3 separate regions of the Homo sapiens genome follow, and regions 1 and 2 are each linked to region 3. The links are contacts of gene promoters, found by promoter capture Hi-C in human tissues and cell types (Jung and others, 2019). All regions are on one chromosome and are shown on one strand. The core of a region is centred on a gene start or on the middle of the fragment in contact, and the rest is flanking DNA. Distances in the headings are between cores, read along the strand shown. Region 1 has its middle 7.8 kb from the start of OR7E24. Region 2 overlaps MUC16 (mucin 16, cell surface associated). Region 3 holds the start of OR1M1 (olfactory receptor family 1 subfamily M member 1).

Region 1 (4,351 bases), core at 1,758-4,257, 160 kb before region 3:
TGTCTATTCAAGTCCTCTGCCCAATTTTTTTTTTTCTTTATTGAGACGGAGTCTTGCTCTGTCACCCAGGCTGGAATGCAGTGGCATGATCTTGGCTCACTGCAAACTTCACCACCCGGGTTCAAGCGATTCTCGTGACTCAGCCTCCTGAGTAGCTGGGACTATAGGTGCAGGCCACCCGCCCGCTAATTTTTTTTGTATTTTTTTGTATTTTTACTAGAAACGGAGTTTCACCATGTTGGCCAGGCTGGTCTTGAACTCCTGACCTCAGGTGATCTGCCCGCCTTGGCCTCCCAGAGTGCTGGGATTATAGGTGTAAGCCACCACACCTGGCCTTCTGCCCATTTTTAATGGGCATTTGTTTGGTTGCTGAGTTGTAGGAGTTCTTAATATTGTTTGGTTGTTAGCCTCTAAGCATATATATATGATTTACAGATATATTTTCCTATTCCCTGGGTTAACTTTTGACTCTGATGATAGTATATCCTTTGAGTTACAAAGGTTTTTTAATTTTGATGTAGTCCAAGTTATCTATATATTGTTGTCTGTGCTTTTGGTGACATATTCAAGAAATCACTAAGAAATCCAGTGTCATGAAGGTATTGATCAAATCATTACCAAATCCAATGTCATGAAGGTATTGATCAATGTTTTCTTTAAGAATTTTATAGGTTTGGAATTTAGGTTTAGGCCTTTGATCCATTTTGTGTTAACTTTTGCATATGGTGTAAGGTAAGAACCCACCTTCATTCTTCTGCATTTTGAAATCAAGTTTTTCCTACACCGTTTGTTGAAAAGGCTGTCTTTTTCCCAATGAATGTTCTTGGCACCCATGTGGAAAATCATGTGACCATATAAGTGAGAGTTTCTTTCTGGGCTCTCTTTACTCTTCCATTTTTCTGTATATGTGTCTTTATGTATTATAGTACCACACTGTTTTAATTCCTGGATCTTTGTAGTTTATTTGGAAACCAGGAAATGTGAGACCTTCAACTTTTCTTTTTAATGGATTTATACATTTTTTCAATTTACCTTAGAATTGTACATTGAGTTGGATAATAGTAACAAAACCTGCTAGGCTTTGGAGAGTGGATTCCCAAGGTTTTTCAAATACACTGTCTCATTGGAGCCTTAGTACTCCTGATCAAATAAAGACAGACAGATTTTTTATTTTGCCAGTGAGAATCACAGTCTGGAGAGGCTGTTGAATCCCAACACAGTGGTCACTGATGGGTCTGATACTGGAATTGGGTCTGTGTCCACCAGGCTGTGGGGCCTTTTCCAGAAACCAGGCTCCTGCACAGGGACTGGGGCTGAAGGAGGGACTCTCCCGGGAGGAGGCAGCCTGGTGAGAAGGATGCCAGCAGAAGTCTCAGGCCTCTAAGGCCTCCCCTCCTTCCCTGGTCTCTGCAGCTGAAGTTGCATCAGGAAGCTGTATCTTCTAACTGCTTGAGGCAACTTCTCAGATAAACCCTCTGAGGTGAATCCATAAACTTTTACAACTTGCACTTTCAAAGGATGATGCAAGGAGCAACAATTGCACCAGCTTGAGCCATTTGAGGGTGGTGTGGAATTGGAAACTGTGTCAAAGGCAATGGAACCCTGCCTCTAGCATCAGAAAGCTAAGCCTGTATTCAAAATAGATGCCTGCCAGGTGCAGTGGTTCACACCTACAATCCCAGTGCTTCAGGAAGCCAAGGTGGCCAATCCTGGTTTGAGGCCAGGATTTCAAGACAAGCCTGAGTCACATAGAGAGACCCCCTAACTGGGTGTGATGATGCATGCCTGTAGTCCCAGCTACTTGGGAGACTGAGGAGGATCACTTGAGCCCAGGAGTTCAAGATTTCAGTGAGCCACTGTACTCCAGCCTGCACAATACTGTGAGACACTGGCTCAAAAAAAAAAAAAAAAATGCCAGAGCAACATAAAATTGTAAGCATTCATTACCTTTCTGCCACCATGCATTGGGGAAAGTGGATCCCTCAGCTGATGCTGACCATTGGCAGACAGGATGGTGTGTGTGGAGATGGCGGGAGGGTCTTAGGGATGTGGGATGAACCCTGACACCATCTACTACCCCATCCTTCACTGCAGACCCAGTTCTACCAGTTCTCATCAAAAGGGTGAACTGCATCCCAAACACAGTCCACATTCTGTGGCTTCCATTCCTGAAGACATCTCCAGAAAGTCTCAGAAGAAAATTAAACTATATGAGAGAACAAATCTTTTCTATCGTATAATTATTACATGTTCTACAATCTGGGGTTAGATCATAAAACTGCAATTATGGGAAATAAAGGTCAAATAAAGAAGGAAAGAAAGAAAGACAAGAAGGAAGGAGGGAATGAGAGAAGAAAGAGGAGGGAATGAGGGAAGAAAGAGGAGGGAATGAGGGAAGAAAGAAGAGGAAAGGAAGAAAGTAAAAAAGGAGGGAGGGAGGGAAGAAAAGGAATAATCACAAAGAAGGAAGCAACGTCTCAGTTATTCTAGGCAGTTCATTACTATGAATCATCAGAACAAACAAGCTTACAAATCTACATTCCTAATTTGATGTGAAAAATCACATCACTGTTCTTATGAAATAAAGGATAGCAAAGTTGGAGTGTGGTCTCAACGTCAAGTTGCCAGGTTATAGTTCACCTCTATCTGCTTCTTCCTTTGTGGAACAAGGTGAATGAGAAAAGACATGTCAAAGAAATGTTTTCAGGGCCAACTGTGGTGGCTCATGCCTATAATCCCAGCACTTTGGGAGGCCGAGGCAGGTGGATCACTTGAGGTCAGGAGTTTGAGATCAGCCTGGCCAACATGGCAAAACCCCATCTCTACTAAAAATACAAAAAAAATTAGCCAGGTGTGGTGGTGCACACTTATAATTCCAGCTACTTGGGAGGCTGAGACACAAGAATTGCTTGAACCCGGGAGGTGGTTGCCGTGGGCTGAGATAGCGCCATGGCACTCCAGCCTGGGTGACAGAGTGAAACTGTGTCTCAAAACAAAACAAAACAAAAACAAAAAGAAAGAAATGTTTTCAGGATTAAATAAAGCCATACATGTAAAGCAACAAGCACAATCCTAAAAGGGAAACACGTTGCCTTGACTATTGTATGATTTTCATCCAATTTCTTCCAGAGGAAACAAGAACACAACCAAGTTTAGGTGAAGGGTGCTAACATGCAAATGGGTAATTTTTGAGGAAAGCATGTCATCATATCAGCACTCGATATGATAAGTGTTTCAAACAACACGTGAGAACTCTCAAGAGTGGCTCTAAGAAAATGGACCAAAGATGGAACTTTAAAGACTGTATATAAAACGGAAAAGTTAGAAGGAAATTACCAAGGGAGTTACTGAGAGAACCTAAAGTAAAAACATGTAGCAAAAGCCAAATCACAAGTGTTTTGGGAAGAGTAAAAATGAAGCATGTGATTTTCAGGAGAAAAAGAGCCAGGATATTTATTTCTTGTTTTCTTTTAGTTTTGTAGTTGTTGTTTTTGAGACAAAGTCTCACTCTGTCGCCCAGGCTGGAATGCAATGGCGCAATCTCAGCTCACTGCAACCTCTACCTCCCAGATTCAAGCAATTCTCCTGCCTCAGTCTCCCAAGTAGCTGAGATTACAGGCACCCACCACCACACCCAGCTAATTTTGCATTTTTAGCAGAGATGGGGTTTCACCACATTGGCCAGGCTGGTCTTGAACTCGTGACCTCAAGTGATCCACCCACCTCAGCCCCCAAAGTGCTGGGATTACAAGCATGAGCCACCAAGCCTGGTCGAGCCGGGATATTTAAATTCACATTTGCCTAATGGACCTACAACATCCACTTAGTTCTGAGACCTTGATCTGTCATGGACAAGAGGCTGGTCTGCTGAGGAACTGAATGTTCATGAGCAGGGCTCTGTCAAACATAATCTTGCCTTTGTGACCTTTTTATAAACCCAATGATCTCTCTGACAACCACCACTTAGACAGATTGAACCCTAGGCTAACACATTCTGCTGCCAAGTGGATGTTATTAATAAGGTGTTTCACAGCACAACAAACTAAACCCTTCCAAGAACAAACTCGATGCAAAGGAAAGTAGATTGAACCCTACTTTCTGCCATGTACAAAAATCAAATCAAATAAAAAACAGATCAACAGGCCTGGCGCAATGGCTCATGCCTGTAATCCCAGCATTTGGGTGGCCGAGGCGGGTGGATCACTTGAGGTCAGGAGTTCAAGACCGGCCTGACTAACATGTGAAACCCCATCTCCATCAAAAATACAAAAATTAGCCAGGCGTGGTGGCGGGCACCTGTAATCCCAGCTACCTGGGAGGCTGAGGCAGGAGAATCACTTGAACCCGGGAG
Region 2 (4,268 bases), core at 1,048-3,547, 240 kb after region 3:
CCCAGTTCACGGAGTGGCTTTCCTATTTTCTTTTTATAATTTTATTTTTAATTAATTGACAAATAATGAATGCATATATTTAGGGGATACAATGTGATGCTTTGGTATATGTACAATTATGGAATGACTCAATCAAGCTAATTAATATGTCCCTCACCTCTCATACTTATTATTTCTTTGTGGTGTGAACATTGGCAACCTATACTCTTAGCAATTTTGAAATCTACATTATTATTAACTATAGTTACTATGTTATGCAGATCTCAAAAACTTCACAACCTATATGCTGATTACAAGATATTGAGAGAAAAAGTGATTGCAAAGAGTGTAAATAAAATAATGTAAGAGGGAAAAATGTAACAAAATTAGTCGTTAGGGAAATGTACACGGAAGTCACAATGAGAGGCCACTTTTCACAAGAATGGATAAAATTGAAAAGATTGACTATAACAAGTGTTGGTGAAAATGTGACAGAACTGGAACTCTCATAAAGTGAAAGTGGAAAATAGCTTGGCCATTTCTTTGAAAATTACACACACCTACCGTAAGACCCTACCATCCCACTACTAGTAATTTATCTAAGAGAAATAAAAACATATGTCTATATGAAGACTTGTACACAAGTAAATGTTCATAACAGCTTTGTTTGTAATAGCCAAACTCTGAAAACAACCCTAATGTCCATTAACAAATATATCCTGACAATGGAATATTATTCAGCAACAAAAAGGAATTATTAATACATTAATAAATTATACAGCAACATGTATAAATTGCAAAATAGTTATGCCTAGTGAAAGAATCCAGATGAAGAAAAGAGTACATGCCATATGATTCCCTTAATAGACAAATTCTAGAAAATACAAACTAATCTGTAAGGACAGGAATCAGATCAGCGGTTGCCTGGGAATGAAAATGTGTTTGCAGTGGCAGGGAAAAAGGAATTGTAAAAGAGCAGGAAGAAAGTTTTTTTGTTGTTTTTTTTTTGTTTTTTCTTGAGACAGAGTCTTAGTCTATCGCCCAAGCTGGAGTGCAATGGCACGATCTCAGCTCATTGCAACCTCTGCCTCTCGGGTTCAAGCGTTTTTCCTGCCCCAGCCTCCCAAGTAGCTGGGATTACACATGCGCACCACCACACTCAGCTAATTTTTGTATTTTTAGTAGAGACGGGGTTTTACCATGTTGGCCAGGCTGGTCTCGAACTCCTGACCTCAGGTGATCCACCCGCCTTGGCCTCCCAAAGTGCTGGGATTACAGGAGTGAGCCACCATGCCTGGCCAGGACGAAAGTTTTGGGGATGATGGATGGATGTTCCTTATGTTGATTGTGGTGACGATTCAATAAGTTATGATCAGAACTTATCAAAACATTCACTTTAAATGTGTGCAGTTTATTTTATGTCAGTTATGCCTCAGTTAAGCTGGACAGATGTAGAGGAGGAAGGGAGGGAGAGAGGGGGCTGAGATCAGGACCAAAAGCCAGAGAGAAAGAGACTGAGAATGAGATGAGAGAGAAATGGTATTTAGACAGAAGACAGGCGATAGATGATTGATAGTTGACAGATGATTGGTGGATAGCTGATAGGTAGATGATAAATAGATTATTTTGATAGATAATTGGTAGATAATAAATTGATAGGTAACAGATAGTTGATAGATATTGATAAGTAGATGATAAATACATGATTGATGGATGACAGGTGATTGATAGATGATTGATGGATTATAAATAGGAGATGATTGAGAGGTGAGAGATAATTGATGGTTATTGATTGGTAGATAATTGATTGACAGGTTGATAAATATTGATAGCTAGATGATAGATAAATAGATCATTGGTAGATATGTGATATATTGATAAAGAAATTCAGAGGCAAAAGGAGAGAGAAATGAAGGGGATATCGGAGGGGGAAAAATTTTTTTAAACCGAGAGTGAAACAAGGAGACAGAAGAAAAGAAAGTGGTGAAAAGAGGAAAAGAACTGAGGGAGAAATTAAATGAAACAATGAAGGGAGACAGAGGAAGCATAAGGCCTCTGGCTTTGGCCATATTCTCACCCCTGTGGTCTCCTCTCCCTGGACGGCTGACCAGTCCATTCTCACGCCTCCTCCTCACCCTCATAGGTGACCACCCGCCGGCGGAAGAAGGAAGGAGAATACAACGTCCAGCAACAGTGCCCAGGCTACTACCAGTCACACCTAGACCTGGAGGATCTGCAATGACTGGAACTTGCCGGTGCCTGGGGTGCCTTTCCCCCAGCCAGGGTCCAAAGAAGCTTGGCTGGGGCAGAAATAAACCATATTGGTCGGACACAGTCTCTGAGCCTTCCTTGACGTGACCCCTGACTGGTTCATGTTGGACTAAGAGAACAGTCTTCCACCTTCGTGAAGTCCCAAAGGCAACTCTCAGTTGTGTGTTGTGGTTTCGCACCATGTCATCCCTTGGGAACACCAGAATTGGTGAAAATGATTGTATTAGGCTGTTCTTGCACTGTGATAAAGAAATACCTGGCCGGGCGCAGTGGCTCACACCTATAATCCCAGCACTTTGGGAGGCCCAGGCGGGTGGATCACTTGAGGTCAGGAGTTCAAGACCGGAGCCTGGCCAACTTGGTGAAACCCTGTCTCTACTAAAAATACAATAATTAGCCAGGCATGGTGGTCCACGCCTGTAATGCCAGCTACTTGGGAGGCTGAGACAGGAGAATCACTTGAACCCAGGAAGCAGAGGTTGCAGTGAGCCAAGATCACGCCACTGCACTCCAGCCTGAGTGACAGAGCGAGACTCTGTCTCAAAAAAAGAACAAGAGAAAAAAAAAAAATACCTGGCCAGGCTCGGTGGCTCACGCCTGTAATCCTAGCACTATGGGAGGCCTAGGCAGGCAGGTTGCTTGAGTCCAAGAGCTCGAGACCAGCCTGGGAAACATGGCAAAATGCTGTCTCTACAAAGATTTTTAAAAATAGCCAGGCATGGTGGTGCGTGCCTGTAGTCCCAGCTACCCAGGAGGCAGAGGTGGGAGTATCACCTGAGCCTGGGAGGTTGAGGCTGCAGTGAACTGTGATTGTACCACTGCACTCCACCCTGAATGACAGAGTGAGATCCTGTCTCAAAAAAAAAAAAAAAAAAAAAAAAAAAAAAAACAAAGAAAAAAGAAATACCTGAGACTGGGTAATTTTTAAAGAAAAGAGGTTTAATTGGCTCACAGTTCTGCAGGCTGTACAGGAAGCATGATGTCAGCATCTGATCAGCTTCTGGAGAGGTCTCAGGAAGCTTCCAATCATGGTGAAGGCCAAGGGAGGGCCAGCATGTCACAAGAGAGGGCCAGCATGTCACATGGCCAGAGCAGGAGCAAGGGAGAGTTGGGGGGAGCAAAGGTGCCACACACTTAACCAGATCTCACAAGTACAGACTCCCTGTTGCAAAGGCAGCATCAAACCATGAAGGATCTGCCCCTATGACCCAAGCACCGCCTACCAGGCTCCACCTCCAACACTGGGGATTACAATTCAACATCAGATTTGGTGGGGACACATATCCAAACTACATTACTGATGATATGGACAGGAGACAGGGAAATACTGGGTAGAAGAGGGAGGTTCCCCAGCAAAGGCCCCACCCTCAAGCCTGGAGACCTGTGGCCCTAAATGGGAACAGACAATCCTGTTTTCATGCCCCAAAGTCACCTTTTGGCCCACCATGCTCCCCTATCCTATACCCATATAAACCTCAAACCCCAGGCTCCACAAGCAGAAGAATGGCAGAACGACACAGCAGAGAGAAGAGAAGGAGCATCTGAATGCCGAAAGGAGTTCAACTGGGGACAGTCAGAGAGGAGACTAGCCACTGGACAGCCAAACTCCAGGGGAAGATCATCTTCCCACTCCATCCCCCTTCTAGCTCCCCATCCATCCCACTGAGAACCACCTCCCCCATTCAACAAAACCCTGGCATTCATCCTTCAAGTCTATGTGTGACCTGATTCTTCCTGGATGCTGGACAAGGACTTGGGTACCAAGAGGGCACTGAGCTGGTTAACACTTGAGCCATCCACAGACAGCAAGGCTAAGGAGCACACTGTAACACACAGCCACTTGGGCTTTGGGAGTTGCAGTCTCCCACCTGTGGATGCTGCCATGGGGCCAGAGCCCAGGGACACTGGCCCCGGCTCCTGCACCTGCCTGTCTGTGTGCTCCCCGTCCCATAAGGGGTTTGAGTGCACCCAGCAGCCAAACAGATGAGCCACACCCCTGTCACATGTCCTGCAAGGGA
Region 3 (4,386 bases), core at 1,449-3,948:
CAGCCAGGGATTTTTGGAAAATGTGTTGGCTTTAGGCAGGGCACAGTGGCTCACACCTGTAATCCCAGCACTTTGGGAGGCTGAGACAGGCGGATTGCCTGAGGTCAGGAGTTCGAGACCAGCCTGGCCGACATGGTGAAACCCCGTCTCTACTAAAAATACAAAAAATTATCCGGGCGTAGTGGTGGGCCCCTGTAATCCTGGCTACTTGGGAGGCTGAGGCAGGAGAATCGCTTGAACCCAGGAGGCGGAGGTTGCAGTGAGCTGAGATTGTGCCATTGCACTCCAGCCGGGGTGACAAGAGCGAAACTCTGTCTCAAAAAAAAAAAAAAAAAAATGTGGTAGAAATACACAATGGAAAACTATTCAGCCATAAAAATGAAGGAGATCTTGTCATTTACAGCAACATGGAAAGAATTGGAGCATATTATAAATGAAATAAGCCAGGAACAGAAAGTTAAACACTGCATGTTCTCACTCACATGTGAAAGCTAAAAGAAAAAAAATGATTTCATAGAAGTAAAAAGAACAGAGGATACTAGAGTCTGGGAAGGGTAGAGGGAGGGGGCAGATAGGAAGAGATTTGTTACAGCATACAGAACTACAGGCAAATTGGAAGAATAAGTTCTAGTGTTCTATATCCCTGTAGGATGAATACAGTTAACAATAATATGCTATATAGCTAAACAGCTAGAAGGAGGATATTGAGTGTTCCCAACACAGAGAAATGATAAATGTTTGTGATAATAGATGTGCTAATTACCCAGATCTGATCACTATACATTACATATATGGAAACATTACTATGTACCTCATAAATATATACAATTAAAACATTTTAAAAGGAGTCAGAGTATTTTTTTTTTTTTTGAGACAGAGTTTCGCTCTTGTTGCTCAGGCAGGAGTGCAATGGTGCAATCTCAGCTCACTGCAACCTCTGCCTCCCGGATATAAATGGTTCTCTGGCCTCAGCCTCCCGAGTAGCTGGGATTACAGGCACCCACCACCACACCTGGCTAATTTTTTTGTATGTTTACTAGAGATGGGGTTTCACCATGCTGGCCAGGCTGGTCTTGAACTCCTGACCACAGGTGATCCGCCCGCCTCGGCCTTCCAAAGTGCTGGGATTACAGGTGTGAGCCACCGTGCCTGGCCGAGTCAGAGTATTTTTCCATCTCAAGGAAGCCAGTGAATGCTCTGTGATTAAACTACTAATGGAATCAAGGAACTGATCTCAGACATCCTCCTGCCCTGACACCTAAGCTTTCACTGAATTACTCTGTCACTCCTCATTCTTCCACAGCTCTTGGGAAAAATTTAAGTATCAGGAACCCGAAGATTCATCCCTTAAGCTTCTTGATGAGCCTCTCTCCAAGGAAGCACCAGTCCTATCCTATCTGGACCTCTGCACTCTGTGTCTAAGATCTCTCAGCCTGGAATACTTGGGAATCTCCAAGGGCTTCCAAGACCCAACATGGGGAATAACACAAACTTCTGCCTACAGAAGTACTGAGGAGGAAGCCATCTGTTCCTTCAGGCACTCAAGTGGGCTTGGAAAAGAAAGTCCAGGCTGGGCGCAGTGGCTCATGCTTGTAATACCAGAACTTTGGGAGGCTGAGGCGGGTGGATCACCTGAGGTCAAGAGTTGGAGACCAGCGTGGCCATTATGGTGAAACCCCAGCTCCACTAAAAATACAAAAATTAGCTGGGTGTGGTGGCGGGCATCTGTAATTCCAGCTACTTGGGAGGCTGAGGCAGGAGAATCTCTTGAACCTGAGAGATGGAGGTTGCAGTGAGCCAAGATCATGCCACTGCACTGCAGCCTGGGTGACAGAGTAAGACTCCATTTCAAAAAAAAAGTCTAGTTACGAAGAAAAACAGTGCTACAAATAATCATGGTTTTTAGGTAAAGGACTGGTAGCATCACAACTAAACCAGGCTGAGCTAGTTTGGTAAGAAGAGCCATTGGATTCTGGGCTGACAAGTGGGTGCTGATTGACCAGACAGAATCTTCCAGTGTCGGCCGAGCACAGTGAATTCCAGTACTTTCGGAGGCTGAGGCGGGTGATCACCTGAGGTCAGGTGTTCGAGATCAGCCTGACCAACATGGTGAAACCTTGTCTCTACTAAAAATACAAAATTCACAAGGCATGGTGGTGTATGCCTGTAATCCCAGCTACTCGGGAGGCTGAGGTAGGAGAATTGCTCGAACCTGGGAGTCAGAGGTTGCAGTGAGCCAAGATCGTGCCATTGCACTCCAGCCTGGGCAACAAGAGCAAAACTCCATCTCGGTGGGGGAAAAATGTTCAAAAAATCAGCTGGGTGTGGTGGCACATGCCTGTAGTTCCAGCTACTCTAGAGGCTGAGGCAGGAGGATTGCTTAAGCCCAGGAGGTAGAAGCTGCAGTGAGCTGTGATTGTGCCACTGCACTCCAGCCTGAATAACAGAGCAAGGTTCTGTCTCTAAAATAAATAAATCAGTAAATCAATAAATAATAAAAAAGAATCTTCCAGTGTATCTGAGATCATTGAGCTTGGCTTCATTAATTTTACCAACATTCGTTCAGTCTCTCTCTCTCTCTCTCTCTCTCAGCTCACTCACTGGGCTATCTTTCCTCTTCTTGACACCATCACCCAGGCATGAGTTAAACTGGCTCAGTGTCCTCCCAGCAGGTACTAGATGATGAAGTTAGATGTTTGGGCCAGCAGATGCTACATAGAAATACTGGGAAGTTGTCCTCCTGGTCCAAAGAAGAAAAGCTAGGGTGGGGGATAAGTTGTAGGAACCGAGGGAATATTTACAATTTCTGGGCCAATAAGAAGTCAATTCCCCAAGCTCCTTGTTACACAAATTGTCCAATTTCATCTCTAGTCCCTGAATAGTTCTGTTTCCTATGGGGGCTGGGACGTGGCAGTAAGAAGCATTTTATGTCTTCATGAGGCAACTTAGGGGTAAGTTGCATGATTCCTAACTTTCTCTGCACCCTCTCTTCCAGGAACAAACTCTCCCTGTCTTCTAAACTCAGTCTTTCCAATGCCCAGGGCTTCTTATATCAGAAGGTTCCATTCTTATTGGAAGCCAATGTTCCTCATCACTTAAAGAATTAAGAAATGGCCGGGTGTGATGGCTCACGCCTGTAATCCCAGCACTTTGGGAGGCTGAGGCGGGTGGATCATGAGGTCAAGAGATTGAGACAATCCTGGCCAACATGGTGAAACACTGTCTCTACTAAAAATACAAAAATTAGTTGGCATGGTGGTGCACACCTGTAGTCCCAGCTACTCAGGAGGCTGAGGCAGAAGAATCGCTTGAACCCAGGAGGCAGAGGTTGTGGTGAGCCGAGATTGCACCATTGTACTCCAGCCTGGGCAACAAGAGCGAAACTCCATCTCAAAAAAAAAAAAAAAAAAAAAAAGAAAAGAACTAAGAAACACTCCAAACATTTTCCCACGTCCACCCAGTGATCTGTCACCAAGACCCAGGGCTGCCTGCTTTCATCACTCAACCTCAACAGAACAACTCTCTATAAAGGGATCATGGCTTTCATTCAGTTCTGCAAAAGGAGAAACTAGAGCCTACCCTAATGGATGTACATGGAGAGAGTGGTTGGCTGACTAAGTCTGCAGCCAGATTCTCACTGAGTATTGGGACCATGGTGGCATTACTGGGAATTTTCAGGAATTTGGTTTTATAAGGTCATGCCCAGATTATTGGGTTGTGTCTACTCAGTAAACACTCATGAAACTGATGGATACATGAAGGCTCAGTTTTTCAAAGCCTTTAGCTATGTAAAGAGCAAAATACTAGGTTGAGCCATATGCAATTGTCAATATTCTACCATTTTTGATCAACAAAACTGGCATTTTTTTTTTTGGTATGCCTCAGCTTCATATAATGAAATCCTGTGTGCCCAATCACTCAGCTTCCACACCTACCAAGTCAAGCCTCTGTTGAATCTGTGTCCTACCTACTTTGACCTCTCTCTTCCCAGAGATAATTTCAGAGCAAATTCCATATGTATAATGATTTTGGTATGTCTTCAAAAAACAAAAAGCTCTTTTTGAAAGCATAACCACAATACCATTATTATTATTATTATTTTGAGATGGAGTCTCGCTCTGTGATCCAGGCTGGAGTAGAGTGGTGCAATCTTGGCTCACCGCAACCTCCGCCTCCCGGGTTCAAGCGATTCTCCTGCCTCAGCCTCCTGAGTAGGGAGGCTCCCAAGTTGTATTTTTAGTAGAGACAGGATTTCACCATGTTGGCCAGGCTAGTCTTGGACTCCTGACCTCAAGCGATCCACCCACCTCAGCCTCCCAAAGTGCTGGGATTACCGATGTGAGCCACTGCGCCTAGCAATTATTTTGATTCAAAATATTAATAATA

What was found. The method cuts DNA at HindIII sites, captures the fragments that hold promoters and counts their contacts. A contact is called where the count stands out against the background at its distance.
Region 1: a contact is called between a fragment that was not itself captured here and the fragment with the promoter of OR1M1 in region 3, in 6 of the 25 tissues and cell types used here (dorsolateral prefrontal cortex, heart left ventricle, lymphoblastoid cells and 3 more).
Region 2: a contact is called between a fragment that was not itself captured here and the fragment with the promoter of OR1M1 in region 3, in 1 of the 25 tissues and cell types used here (thymus).

What each region holds. Positions count from the first base shown.
Region 1 is chr19:9,240,906-9,245,256 of GRCh38, reverse strand. It overlaps a transcript of OR7E24 not described here. Among named protein-coding and RNA genes, the nearest start is that of OR7E24, 7.8 kb to the left of the region's middle. The HindIII fragment of the contact is 9,125 bases long and covers 1-4,351 here.
Region 2 is chr19:8,846,885-8,851,152 of GRCh38, reverse strand. It overlaps MUC16 (mucin 16, cell surface associated), which reads left to right. Exons shown (of 94, transcript NM_001414686.1): 94 at 2,123-2,309. The coding sequence ends at 2,221. Among named protein-coding and RNA genes, the nearest start is that of MBD3L1, 17 kb to the right of the region's middle. The HindIII fragment of the contact is 5,188 bases long and covers 1-4,268 here.
Region 3 is chr19:9,085,373-9,089,758 of GRCh38, reverse strand. It overlaps OR1M1 (olfactory receptor family 1 subfamily M member 1), which reads right to left and starts at 2,698. Exons shown (of 2, transcript NM_001004456.2): 1 at 2,602-2,698. The HindIII fragment of the contact is 13,481 bases long and covers 1-4,386 here.